Regions from separate parts of the Homo sapiens genome. Here all the other regions are linked to region 1. Evidence: promoter capture Hi-C in 16 types of primary human blood cells and fetal thymus (Javierre and others, 2016). All regions are on one chromosome and are shown on one strand. Each heading gives the region's core, a stretch centred on a gene start or on the middle of the fragment in contact. The rest is flanking DNA. Distances are from core to core; before and after follow the strand shown. Region 1 holds the start of ZNF284 (zinc finger protein 284). Region 2 overlaps ZNF112 (zinc finger protein 112). Region 3 overlaps CEACAM20 (CEA cell adhesion molecule 20).

The links. Contacts are between HindIII fragments. The CHiCAGO score rates a contact against its expected background, and 5 or more counts as called.
Region 2: a fragment that was not itself captured here is called in contact with the fragment with the promoter of ZNF284 in region 1 in 1 of 17 cell types (naive CD8 T cells); the score reaches 5.2 in naive CD8 T cells.
Region 3: a contact is called between a fragment that was not itself captured here and the fragment with the promoter of ZNF284 in region 1, in 1 of 17 cell types (neutrophils). The highest score is 5.7, in neutrophils.

The regions. Positions count from the first base shown.
Region 1 is chr19:44,069,026-44,073,979 of GRCh38, reverse strand. It overlaps ZNF284 (zinc finger protein 284), which reads right to left and starts at 1,821. Exons shown (of 5, transcript NM_001037813.4): 1 at 1,689-1,821. The HindIII fragment of the contact is 12,821 bases long and covers 1-3,796 here.
Region 2 is chr19:44,338,347-44,343,448 of GRCh38, reverse strand. It overlaps ZNF112 (zinc finger protein 112), which reads left to right. Exons shown (of 4, transcript NM_013380.4): 2 at 2,907-3,033. The coding sequence starts at 2,910. Among named protein-coding and RNA genes, the nearest start is that of ZNF112, 16 kb to the left of the region's middle. The HindIII fragment of the contact is 713 bases long and covers 1,899-2,611 here.
Region 3 is chr19:44,510,201-44,514,588 of GRCh38, reverse strand. CEACAM20 (CEA cell adhesion molecule 20) reads left to right here. Exons shown (of 12, transcript NM_001102597.3): 7 at 1,300-1,417; 8 at 1,636-1,721; 9 at 2,511-2,572; 10 at 2,917-2,952; 11 at 3,434-3,559. Among named protein-coding and RNA genes, the nearest start is that of ZNF180, 12 kb to the right of the region's middle. The HindIII fragment of the contact is 3,813 bases long and covers 1,232-4,388 here.

The DNA.
Region 1 (4,954 bases), core at 572-3,071:
CCCTCTTGGCAGTGTTTCCAAATTTCCATAGTTAAACACATAAGGGAAAACACATTTTTTTAATCATAAAATTTTGTTTAAATGTTTATAAATAAATATGCAAATATGCCAAAGAAAGACCAAAAAGAAATGCACCGGGTGCGGTGGCTCACGCCTGTAATCCCAGCACTTTGGGAGGCCGAGGCTGGTGGATCATGAGGTCAGGAGATCAAGACCATCCTGGCTAACACGGTGAAACCTCATCTCTACTAAAACTACAAAAAAATTAGCCGGGCGTGGTGGCGGGCGCCTGTGGTCCCAGCTACTCACACAGGAGGCTGAGGCAGGAGAATGGCGTGAACCTGGGAGGCGGAGTTAGCAGTGAGCCGAGATCGTGCCACTGCACTCCAGCCTGGGCAACACAGTGAGACTCTGTCTCAAAAAAAAAAAAAAAATGCACTCGAAGTTTAACAGTTACTATCTTTACATGCTGGATTCATGGGTAATTATAAACTTGTACTACTCGTATTTCTCCAATTTCTGAACGCTCCACAATCATACCGCTGCATAACAAGTGAAATATTTGTAATAAATGAAATAGTTCTAATGAATGAAATAGTTGATAAACTCCCAGAACAGTCCAAGCCCATAAGCCTTGCTCTCAAGGCTCCCTTCAATCAAGTCCTAGCTTGCTTTCCCCACTAGATTCCAGCTAGTTCCTCTGCCTCAATGAGAATGTATCCAAAAGATTATCAACTAAGGCTCTGACCTGTAACGCCCAGGTTTCAACCGCAGCTCCACCTCTTACTGCTTAGGTGACTATTCTCAGATAACTCCTGCTCCTTTGTATCTCACTCATCTTTAAAACTGAAAAAAGTAGTACCTCTCCACAGAGCCACGGTGTGGCGAAAATGTGACTACTTGTATAAAGCTCTTGGGATAAAGTTACCAATTGAGGCTTAATTATTATCAACACCCATGCCTGAGGACACATCCTACACTCTTGGTCGGGGTGAGCATCTCTGTAAAAGAAAAAAAGCCAAGGACCACTCTCGTGGAACTTTGCCCTCAGTAGCCAAGAAGTCCCTCCCTGCAGCTCTTTTTGAGAATCAGGCTGGGGAAGGAGAAAGCTGTGAAACACCCTGACCGCATTGCCGTCCGGCATAAAAGTTAAATGTTCCTCTCCCTTCGTGGAAATGGAAACAACCCTCGCCTTCCTAAAAAGAGGTCAGAAGCGTCCGGGATCACCCAGCGTCCTGCAGGAATCAGAGACAAGGGCGGGGATCCCTGCAGATGGAGCTCTGACCCCACCCGGGGACCTGACAGGCTTCGTGGGAAATAAACACTAAGAAGAGACCACCAGTCACTAAGGGAGGGGCTGCTTTAAGGCTTTCATTTGTGTTACCTCTTCCAGTTCCCAAAACGATTTCATTAGGATGGTCCTAAAGTCCCCATTTTAAAGAACAGCAGTGGGAGGTACAGGGAGATTAATAACATCCCAACCCTAAATTGTGAGAAAGTAGCCTCACAGGTGGGATGGAGGGAGGCGGACTGAGCGAGCTGAGAGCCCCAAAAACCCTCAAACCAGGCGAGACGCGTCCCGACCAAGTCCCAACCCCCAGCCTCATGCCCGGGGACGCGAGGACAGCCCCAAGACCAAGAAGGCTCCGCTGACAAGAACGAAAAGAGAGGCCGTTGTCCCTCCAAACCTCCGTTTTCCAACGAGACTCCTTCTCCCCTTAGTCAACTTCCAGGTGGTTGCGAGCCAGCATCGTAAGGGGACACGTTTAGAAGGACCGACAAGACACAGGACTGACACCAAACTACCACCGAATGCACTGCAGCAACCTCGCCCCCCGGGAGCGGAAGTGCCCCTACCCCGCGCAGCGTGTGAACTACATTTCCCAGAATTCCCCGGATACGCCGTCCTGAGCCTACTTGCTCGTCATTCAACAGATCTCCTGCGCTACACTTCCTTGAATCTCAAAGGAGACGTTCTATAGTATCACCTTCCGGCGGGAAGCGTGGGACTCCGCGGTGCTCTTTGACTACACTTCCTGCAATGCCCACGAGGAATGAATCCCATAGACCCAAGCGCCTGGTTTGGAATATGGACTGTGGCCCTGAGAGTGGTCCTTCCCTCTCCCTGCGTCCTCGAGAGAAAATATTGAATAGACAGGAATTCCTGAAGTCTACACGCCTCCCATGATGACAGGAGTGTTACTGAAAGAGAACAAAGCAAGGAGATACAATCTTCAAGGAGTTAGCGGGGAGTGACTGTGGAGCGGTCAGGAGATGGCTGAAAGGCTAATATACTAGACGCTAATAGTATGAGGCTAAATCTAAGAGCTTAAATAATGGGCCAGGAAAAATGGTTTGGGAGAGGCATTGAGTGGGGCACCAGCCCCTGGTACAACCAGACACTGTTGTACCACTGGTTTGGCAAGAAAAACAACCACAGTTTAAGTGTTTAAGAGGGCTGTAAGAGTTAAAGAGAAAAAAAAAAAAAACACGAAAAGCGGCTCAACAGTCAAAGACAGGTTCGTTTTGGAGAATAAACCGAGAGGGCCTTCTGGCCGATTGCAGTCAGGAGCGCTCTCTCTTACGGACTAAGAGTATGTATTGGCTTTAGGGAGAGAGAGCTTACCACAGGCTTAGAATGTTTCTGTATTGGGGAGAAGTCTGTTGTGGGGTTGGAATATCTCTGGTTGGAGGGGAAGTTATCTTGGGACTGACATCTCTCCAATGGAAGGGAGGTTATCTCGGTGCTGGCATGTCTCTGGTCAGGGAGGGGTTTATCTTATGGTTGGAATGTTTCTGATTGGAGATGTCATTTGTGGTTTATGGTCATGCTGACCTTAGCCATTAGGCTGATGCCCTTTGGATTTAGGCAGTTTTTGATCAACGCGAACTTTAAAATGGCAGTGTTTGTCCAAGATGGCGATGCTCCTGCCCTGTCAAGGGCCAATATGGAGGGCCAATTGCCCTCCTGGAAAAGCTATCTTCCCACTTTTAAAGTTTTCATATTAATATTCTTTAGACGTGGAAATGCCACATTTAAGAGAAATTAAACTGCTTAGTATTGTGAAAGGAAAATATCTTGGGCCCCCAAAATCACTAAGGAAATCTCAAGCTGGAAATCGCTTAGGGCAAACCTGCCTCCCATTCTATTCAAAGTCACTCCTCTATCTGTCCTTGCTATCACGAGAACAGCATGGGAAAGACCCACTCCCATGATTCAATTACCTCCTACTAGGTCCCTTTCATGATATGTGGGAATTATGGGAGCTATAATTCAAGATGAGATTTGGGTGGAGACACAGCCAAACCGTATCAGTATGTGTAGATTTCTTATTTTCCATTATTACTTAAAAGAAAGCACGTTTCTAACTCTTCTATGGTCATGTAACAACATATCCTAGAAATCACTTCATGTACAGTACATTCTTTTTAGTGCTGCGTAAACTAGAAAATCCAGAAATAAATTTCTACACCTACAGTGAGCTCATTTTCAACAAAGGTGCTAAGTATATATATTGGGAAAAGGACAGTCTCTTCAATAAATGGTGCTAGAAAAACATGATATCCACATATAGAAGAATGAAACTTCAACCCTGTTGTTCACCATATACAAAAATAAAATCGAAATGGATTAAAGACTTAAATCTAAAACCTCGAACTATGAAACTACTACAAGAAAACATTGGGGAAATGTTCCAGGACATTGGTCTGGGCAAAGATTTCTTGAGTAATACCCCAAAAGCATAGACAACCAAAGCAAAAATGGACAAATGGGATCACGTCAAGTTAAGAAGCTTCTGCACAGCAAAGGAAGCAATCAACAAAGTGAAGAGACAACCCACACAATAGGAGAAAATATTTGCAAACTATCCATCTGACAAGGGATTAATAACCAGAATATAAGAAGCTCAAACCAAATAGGAAAAAATTTAATAAATCAATTTTAAAATGAGCAAAATATCTGAATAGACATTTCTCAAAAGAGGGCATACAAATGGCAAACAGGTATATGAAAAGGTGCTCTACATCATAGATCATCAGATAAATACAAATCAAAACTACCATGAGATATCCCACTCCAGTTAAAATAGCTTTTATTCAAAAGACAGGCAATATCAAATGTTGGTGAGGATGTGGAAGGAGTGAAGGAGGGAATCCTCGCACATTGTTGGTGGGAATGTAAATTAGTAGAACCACTGCGGAGAACAGTATGGAGGTTCCTCAAAAAATTAAAACTATATCAAAGTGATATCTGCACCCTCCCCTGCAATGTTTATTGCAGCACTATTCACAATAACCAAAATTTGGAAGCAACCTAAGTATGCATCAACAGGTGAATGGATACAGGAAATGGACATATACACAATGGAGTACTATTCAGCCACAAAAAGAATGAGATTTTGTTATTTGCAACAATATGGATGGAATTGGAAGGACATTACATTCAGTGAAATAAGTCAGGCACAGAAAGACAAACTTCACATCTTCTCACTTATTTGTAGGAGCTAAAAATTAAAACAATTGAATGCATGGAGACAGAGAGCAGAATGTTGGTTACCAGAGGGAGGGAAAGTTAAGGTTGGTGGTGAGGGAAGTGGGGATGGTTAGTGGGTACAAAACTATGCTTAGATAGAATGAATAAGATCTGGTATTTGATAGCACAACAGAGTTACAGTCAATAATAATTTATTGTACATTTGAAATAACTAAACGAGTACGGATTGTTTCTAACACACACAAAAATCTGATAAATGCTTGTGGTAACAGATACCCCATTTACCCTGATATGATTATTATGCATTGTATGCCTGTATCAACATATATACTCCATATGTGTACCCATAAAAATTAGGATTTTTTTTTTTTAGGCTGAGTGCAGTGGCTCATGCCTGTAATCCCAGCACTTTGGGAGGCTGAGGTGGGCAGATTACTTGAGTGCAGTAGTTCGAGACCA
Region 2 (5,102 bases), core at 1,006-3,505, 270 kb before region 1:
TAGAATCCAACCCATGCTACCTGCTCCTTAACGCCGGTGTGTGGCCACATCTGCTGGGGGAAGGGACACCTTTTTCTAATTTGCACAAAGATACGTTTCCCTTTTAATCATGGCTTCTTTCGTATTACCCTGTTCTGCCTTCTCAGGTCTCTGCCTTTCTCTAGAAAAAGAAAGAGAAAAATGACCAAATTCCAGGTGAGCTGGTTTTCATTTATGCCGTTTTACATGTGACCTCATTTTGCAGTGAGTGGACATATCTTTTTCCCCCTTCTTTGCCAAGGGTAAAGAATGACAACAGGCATTTAGTATCATTTATGTATCAGGCTCTTGCTTTTTGTTTTTGTCCTTTTCTAAAATTTCCTTTTAGTTGTAAATGTGTTTTATTATTTATTTCATAAATAATAGTACAAAGAAGAATAGAAATTTTAAAATCCTACACCTTATTACCCTGCTTACAAATCTGTTTTTGTCCATGGTCATTTTTTTAAATATAACTGTTCTTGCATTAATACATAACAATTTTGAATTTTTATCCGCTTAATTTTTAGCAGTTAATTTTTATCATCTAATATTATTGACGTAAACTGTTGTTATCCCTCTCCCCCTTTTCTTTTTCTTTTTCTTTTTTTTTTTTGAGATGGAGTCTCGCTCTGTTGCCCAGGCTGGAATGCAGTGGCATGATCTCGGCTCACTGCACCCTCCACCTCCTGGATTCCAGCAATTCTCTGCCTCAGCCTCCCGAGTAGCTGGGATTACAGGTGCCTGCCACCACACCGAGCTATTTTTTTGTATTTTTAGTAGAGATGGGGTTTCACCATCTTGGCCAGGCTGGTCTTGAACTCCTGACCTCGTGATCTACGTGCCTCAGCCTCCCAAAGTGCTGGGATTACAGGCGTGAGCCACCGTGCCCGGCCCTTTTCTTTAAATTATTTCCAACTCACAAGCTTTTACGTTCCTGAGGATTCTTGCAGTTTTACATTGCAGTATCAGTTTTCCTACAAATAATCTTGACTCAAAAACCAGTGTGAGAGAATTTTGATATTATTTGTCCATAATGTTCTAGAGACTCAAAACTAAAAATATTTTCTCCTAAGTGATGTCTCAGGTGGAATACATAAAATATGATTTTGTCTAACAAGATTATATTGAAGCTAAGGTTGGGGGAAAAATAGATGTTTTTGTACAAGAAGAGCTAGATTCTTATATAAGAAGAGCTAGATTCTTCTCAGTACCTATAGCTATGTGTTTATCTATATATGTTTGTATGTCTGTGTGTGTTTCATTATTCATGTATTAATTTTATTAGAGTAATACAGGTACTTAGTTTAAAGTTTTTAGTCATACCATAGGATATATAGGCACTTTGCATCTGTCACACTATTCATGGCCCCAGATGACTGTTGGAGGGGAACTGTAGAGTCGTTTGCACTGTTAAGAGGTTCATGTTCATACAGGAAGATAAGCATTGGGCCAACTCTAAAGCCTTTGCTTTCTGGGCCAAGAGTTTCAGGCATATCACTTGCGTGGAAAGACTTACAAAAAAGCAAAGCAAACCAAAGCAGAGTTCTGCATTCAGAGCTGAAGCTGTTATGCTCAGAACTGCAGCCAGAAGAAATATGGGACTGAACAGTTGTTCATTTAAAAATTTAAAATTACCCTACAGCAAAAAGTTACAAGACAGCAAAGTGGAATGAAAAATATTTACAATGTCCATGGAAGAAAAGACCTCGGTGTCCTCCAAATGAATTATTATTACAAAACAAGAAATCGAGATGAACAGCAAATGTGTGTAAAGAGAATGAACTTTATTACCAATAAGTTTGTGAGAATGTTTTTAATAAATGATTTTTACTTCCCAAATTTACTTGTGAGATTATGAAAGATTTTTTTAAAAAGCTTTCATATCCAGTGTTGACTATGATTTATACTTTCTTGGAAGAAGGCTAAGATGGAAGGCGAAAGTCTGTTTTGGGAAAACACCTGCCATTATGATTTCAGAACTTTAAAGGTCATTATTCTTCAGCATTGCCATTGTTACTTTTTGGTATTTATTTTGAGGAGATAATCAACAGAATTCCAGAGGTTAACGTCAATGCAAAAGATTGTTTTTGCAACATTGTTCGTATAGGTAACCTCAAACTAAGTGTGCATTAGTTGGATCAAATTATTATATTCTAGACCATTAGTTCTCTGAATTACTTTGCAGCCCAGAAATGGGATAGAAGATATAATGAAAATATTAATAATGTAGCTAACATTTGTTGGGTACTTACTGTGTGCCAGGTGCTGTTTTCCATGCTTTACATGTGGTCACTCATTTTATTACTAGGACTGTATGGTATAAGTTTCACCATACAAATGAGAAGATAGGAAACTTGTCCAAGATCATAGAGCTAGCATTGGGCAGAGCGCCCAGATCCAGACACAGGCAGTCAGGCTCCAGAGCTGTGCCCATCACTGCAGCAGTCTCCAGATGAGCACAGAGGATGAGCTACATATTTGAGCAGTAAGGATGACTGATACCCTGTAAATTTGACAAATTAAATAAGTGATGTGTGTGTGTGTAAATGAGGAGAAACAGGTAGCATCAGTCACTGTTAGAACTAAAGCTTTTGTGGAGCAAATGACATTATTATTACAATTTAAAATATTGGTAACCTAGGGTGCAACAGAGTTCCAGAGGCTTACTTATAAGTGCTAACAAAAGGAAGTAATTTCAAAGTGCAAGGATTTCTTTTCTTGCAGCCCTTTTGGTGAATGGTATTAGCATTACAGAAGGTAAACAGAAGAGAACTATGTAAATGTGACTCAAGTTGCCCAGACTCCAGAACAGCTTCCAGTCCTTTACACCTTCTCAGCACTGCCCTTCTTCTGTAAACTTAGTGTGCATGTGTTTGGCATTGTAGGAGATGGTGACATTCAAGGATGTTGCTGTGGTCTTCACTGAGGAGGAGCTGGGGCTGCTGGACTCTGTCCAGAGGAAGCTGTACCGAGATGTGATGCTGGAGAACTTCAGGAACCTGCTCTTAGTAGGTGAGGATAGGTGCCCTTAGTTACTCAATGGCAGCCTCCTGGGGTGTCTTTGTGTGCTCAATTGTTAGAAACTCTGAAGCCCCTGAAATTATTCTCTGAGATTAGGTGCCCGAGAGTCCTAATAATCCCCGTGCAACACAGACAAGATGTTTCTGATGGTTTTGTCCAGTCTATCCTTGGAATAGTAAATATGGTCCTGCTTCATTGATTTGCCATCAAACAGTTTAGTAAGTTGTTCCAGGTTAGTAAGTTTATTTTTCAGGGCACCAGTAACTGTTGATGAACTTGACTTTTTAGAGGGGTTTTTTTAAAAAAACATTATATTTGTAAATAACTTTAAACTCACAGAAAACTTACAAAAGGACAAGAACACCCATATAGATTCGCCAAGATTCTACCTGGATTCACCTCTAATAACATTTTACCCTATTTGCTCTATCATTTATGTTCATGTTCTTTCCCTCTCCATACATACTTATGTATGTATATGAAAAAATATATATAGTCATAATATCTTTTTCTGAACGACTTGAGGGTAAGTTAATATACCATGGCCGTTTTTCTCTAAATACTTCAGTGTATATACAGAGTTCAGGAGTCCCCAAGTTCACTCTCACCTCTGATACCAATTGCAAGATTAGGAGTCCCCAAGACCCAAGAGTACTGAGCCCCACACTCAGGCTCAATAATTCACTAGAAGGACTCACAGAACTCACTGAAAGCAGTTGTCTTCACAGTTAATGATTCATTACAGGGAAAGGAATCAGATTAAAGTCAGCCTAGGGAAGAGGCCCAGGAGGCAGAGTCCAGGAGCGTTCCAGATGTCAGCTTCCACTTGTCATCTTCCGTGGAGTTGTGGACAGCACTGACTTCCCAGCAGTGAAGTATGACAATACGTAAGGAGCATTGCCAGCCAGAGAGGCTCATTTGAGCCTTGGTGTCCAGAGTTTTTACTGGAGCTTAGTTACCTAGATATGATTGACCACCTGGGTGGCTGCTCTTAGATTCCAGTTTCTCCAGAGGTTAAGCTAATACCACATGGCTCAAAGCCCCTACTATAAATCACATTGTTTAACTATCTGGTGTGTGGCCCAAGGCTTCTGGGTAAACGAAAGACACTCTAATCGGGCAGTATATTCCAGGGACTTAGCGATTACCTTCTCCAGAAGCCAAAGGCAAAATCCAGATCTCTCTTTAAACAAAACTAACTCTTTCCTTTACTGCACAGTCTGTTTTATAAAAAGAGGAATATTCTCTTACCTGTTCTCAGGACAGATATAATGTTTTTATCTTATCTATCATTTATGCTGTGATTTTATCCATAAAGCCAATTTTATATATATATTTTTTCTTTTGAGACAGAGTCTCACTCTGTTGCCCAGGCTGGAGTGCAGTGGTGCAACCTCAGCTCACTGAATCCTCTGCCTCCCAGATTCAAGTGATTCTCGTGCCTCAGCCACCTGTAGCTGAGATTACAGGCAACTACCACCATGCCCAGCTAATTTTTATATTTTTATTAGAGATGAGGTTTCACCATGTTGGCCACACTGGTCTCAAACTCCTGGCCTCAGGTGATCCACCTGCCTCAGCCTCCCAAAGTGCTGGGATTACAGGCATGAGTCACCACGACCAGCCTAATTTTATTCTTTAAAGCATATTTTTCTCCCTCCAGAACAGGATCTAGAGTCTAGTATAGTTGTTCTGTCTCTTTAGCCTTCTTTAATTTAGAACATTTCCACAGCATTTCTTTCTCTTTTATGACAGTAACATTTTTGAAGAACGCTATCACCTCTTCCCTTATTTTTAATAGAACATTCCTAATGATTCCACAAAATTAGATTCAGATGATCCATGCAGCAGGAACACTATGTAGGTAGAGTGTGCACTTTTGAGGGAATCACATCTGGAGGCACGTGAAGTCATCTGTCCCTCAAAGGTGGTGTTAACTTTGATTACCCAGTCACGATGTTATGCAGTTTCCCCACTATATAATTACTGCTTTTTTCCCCATTTGTAATCATCGGGTAACACAAGTATTTTCCTGTAGATTAAGCACCTGCTGATGATCT
Region 3 (4,388 bases), core at 1,889-4,388, 440 kb before region 1:
TAATTCCAGCTACTTGGGAGGGTGAAGCAGAAGAATTGCTTGAACCAGGGAGGTGGAGGTTGCAGTGAGCTGAGATCACACTATTGCACTCCAGCCTGGGCAACAGAGTGAGACTCCATCTCAAAAAAAAAAAAAGTGGAGATGCAGAAATGAACCTAAGAATCCCTGAAGCACCCCAGGAAGTTCCCTCCTGCCCCTCCAAAGCAGAGCTCCTTCCTCACCCTCCTGATCCTTGTAGCTGTGTTCTTAACTCAGTGGCTCGATTCCACCCTTTTGAGAGAGGTTCAGGCAGAAGTGAGATGGGCAATCGGCAGGCCAATATTGATGAAAACAATTGCCATTTATTAATCACCTAGTATGTGCCAGGTGTTAACATTCATGATTTCATCTCATCTTTGCAAACATCCTGTGCTATTTACAGATGAAGAAATGAGACTCAGAAATGAATTCACTTGTCCAGGGTCACATGGCCGCAGTGAGTCAAGGGGCTCTAAGTGAAAGCCGGGTTTCTGGTTGCCAAAGCTCTTTTCTCTGGTCTGTGCCTCTATTCTGGGAGGAAAGAAACACAAAGCCATATTTGATCCATTATCCTAACTGACATTGTCATCATGGCCAACATTTACTGATCACTTTCCATGGTTCCAAACAAACACTATATATATAGAAAATGAATACATGTATGTTTAATCTTTCTAGAAGCCCTATAAACCCTATTGTTCCCATTTTACAAAAGAGACAACTGAAGCCTAGAGAGGTTAAGTAGCATGCCCAAAGTCACACTGCTGAAATTTGGACGCAGAAACTGGATGTTTTAGTTTAGAAATGATGCTGTTAATACCACAGACTGAGGTCAGGTGCAGTGGCTTACACCTATAATCCCAGCACTTTGGGAGGCTGAGGTGGGCGGATCACTTGAGGTCAGGAGGTCCAGACCAGCCTGGCCAACATGGTGAAACACCCCCTCTCTACCAAAGAATACAAAAAATCAGCCTGCATGGTGGCAGGTACTTGTAGTCCCAGCTACTAGGGGAGGCTGAGGTGGGAGGATCACTTGAACCTGGAGGTTGCAGTGAGCTGAGGTCACGCCACTCCACTCCAGTCTGGGTGACAGAGCAAGACCCTGTCTGAAAAAAAAAAAAAAAAAAGCAAAACCAAAAACCACAATCTGATACCTCCCAACGACTGGAAAACAAGTGCTCACAAAATGTCAGTAGAGAAAAAGCTGCAAGCTTGGGAACGGGCTGGGAGCAGGGATGAGGGTGTGTCAAGCCTGGGTCTTGATTCTGTCTCCTTGCCCAGGTCCCCAGTCCTCCTCCCTGTCCTCAGGGGCCATCGCTGGTATTGTCATCGGGATCCTGGCTGTCATTGCTGTGGCCTCAGAACTGGGCTATTTTCTCTGCATCAGAAATGCCAGACGGTAACACAGGGATACAGGGAGGGGGATGGGGATGGGGATGTGGCCAGCAGGGGGCGCTTGCCGGGCGTGTTGCTGACCATGGTGCTGAGTCTTGTCTGGCACCTGGGGAATTCAGAGGGTTGTGGGCATTGTTCAAGAATGGACATGGGATATGGGCAGAACCTGTGGAGATGGGCAAGGACTAGAGGCACAGAATAATGAGGGCTTTGGGGTTTCAGGCCCTCAAGGAAAACAACAGAGGACCCCAGTCATGAGACCTCACAACCCATCCCGAAGGAGGAGCACCCCACAGAGCCCAGTTCCGGTAAGTGACTCTATGGTGGCTGATGCCTGGGGCAGGGGTGAGGGCTGGGGAAGAGGCTGGTGCTGGGGGCTCCCAGCTTTGCCACCAGGTCACTGTATGATCAGGGCAAGCCCTGTCCACTCTGAGCCTCTGTGTTCCCATCTGGAATTTGGATGAGATTGGAGTCAAGCCCTCTGATGGGTTCTGCCTGTTCCAACAGTCCCGGCAAAAGCAGGACAACAGGCTGGAATTCTCTCCTTTCTCAATCTCAGAAGACTTTTTTAACTGATTGTTGTAGACAGAATGAATCAACCACAACACTCCTTCCTGCTGAATCCAAATCCAGCCTCATAACATATCTCAGTAGAGTGCCTCGAGTGCCCTCTACTGATGGGTTAGAGTTAACCAAAGACAAAATGAAACGTATTTGCCATCTCTGGGTCTGGGATTCTGGAAGGATAGGCCTTTTGATATGGAAGGCTTTCTAGAAACTGTCCAATCCAGCCCCATTTTATAGAGACGAAAACCAAGGCCATTAGGGATAAAGGGCTAAATCCAGGCTACAGAGGACCCAGTGTCAAAACTGGGCTAGAATTTAGATTTCTCCCCTCATCTGTGTCACCAAACAGCCTTACCTAACCCAGACCTTGATTGCCAGGACATTCCTGGTCAAGCTCACTGGAAATATGACAGGGAGTCCTGGGAAGGATTTCTGCACTTCCTTCCTGGGGTCAGGGGTCCTGGAAAAACAGCCCCTTGCCCCATATCTCTTTCGAACTCCAGCTCCTGACTGAGATTCACTTTTTCTAGAAAGCCTGAGTCCTGAGTATCGCAATATATCCCAGCTTCAGGGACGGATCAGAGTCGAACTGGTGAGTGATGCTGCAGAGGGAACCCTCCTTGATCCCCTGACCAGGCTGCTATAGTCTTACTTCTTAGGGTGGGGGCTGGCATGATCTTTTGAGAAAACCCAGTGCCAGGTTAAGTCTCTCTGCATCTCCTCCTCTGACTTCTCTGAGGATCTCAAGACCCTCCCGGGTTTTTTCATCTCTTCTCCTCGTCTTCTTATTCTTTGACATGACAATTCCTAGCTTTGAGCCCTCTGGGAATCAGAAGTGCTATAATTGCCTCTGAGGCCAAAGCTATTTCTGAGCATCTCTTGGGGTAGCCCCTATTCCAAGCCCTATGACCTCTCTGCAACTTTGTTTTTCCCCAGATGCAACCACCAGACCTTCCAGAGGAGACCTATGAGGTACATTGGCCCTGCTGGGTTTGGTTAAAGAATCTATGAAGGAAAGACAATCTGAAAATTTTATATGTGATAAGCCTGAGAGATCATCTTGTCTAAACATTTCATGGCACATCACAGGGCCAGGGATGGGAAGAGAGTAGCCTAAGGCCTCACAGAGAGCTGGGTCAGATGCCATGACCCTGGATCCTCTTTCGTTCCTTCCACCTCCAGGGCTTGGAATTGGATTGCCAATGAGGTGGTACTGGACCAGCACATGCTGGGGTGAAAAGGAGGCTGGGAGTAGAGGTTGCAGATCCAGCAGGAAAAAGGAGAGTTCTGGGCCAGGGCAAGGGCCTGGGTTCTAACCCTGCTTCCACCTCTGATTCTCTGCAAGAACCTGAACAGATTCCTTCCACTCTCTCGGTCCCTGAAGAGTGTAAGTTGGTACATTCCTGGCAATCTGTGTCTGTGGGCCCTGCCTAATTTCTCTGCTTACTTGCAGACGAAGCTGCCTTCAGCAAGCCGTAGAGGCAATTCTTTCAGCCCCTGGAAGCCACCACCCAAACCTCTGATGCCCCCACTCAGATTGGTCTCCACTGTGCCAAAAAACATGGAGTCAATCTATGAGGTATGTTTATGCCACACTGAGTCTTTGGACAGGTGGAAATCTGTCACCAATCTGCTTTTTCTTCCCTACTAAAGAGTCTGTAGGATGAACTATGAAGAAAAATTTCCCTTTAAAAATCTTCTCAATTCCATCCTATCCATTTCCATCATGTCATTTTCTAGTTGGTTTTACTTCATTCCTTTCCAACGCACTCCATTTTATTGCATTCCATGTTTCACTCCACCCAATTCCTTTCTATCCATTTAGCTTTATTCATTTTCTGTATTTCTATATCACTTCACTCTGCCATTTTCTTTCCATCCCATTGGGTTTTATTTCCTTCCACTCTATTTCCCCCCATCCCAGCTCTTCCCATTCACTCTACTGTATTCCATGCCTTTTATTTTCTTTCTTCTCTTTCTTTCTTCCTTCCTTCCTTTTTCTTTCTTTCTTTCTTTCTTTCTTTCTTTCTTTCTTTCTTTCTTTCTTTCTTTCTTTCTTTCCTTCCTTCCTTCCTTTCATCTTTCTTTTTTTTTTTGAGACAGGGTCTTGCTCCATCACCCAGACTGGAGTGCAGTGACTCAATCTCTGATGACTGCAACCTCTGCCTCCCAGGTTCAAGGGATTCTCCCACTTCAGCTTCCCGAGTAGCTAGGACTGCAGGCACGAGCCATCACACCCAGCTAATTTTTGTATTTTTTGGTAGAGACGGGATTTCACCATGTTGGCCAGGCTGGTCTTGAATTCCTGACCTCAATTGATCTGCCCGCCTTGGCCTCCCAAAGTGCTGAGATTACAGGAATGAGCCACCCTGCCTGGCTCATTCCATGCCTTTTCATTCCATTCCACT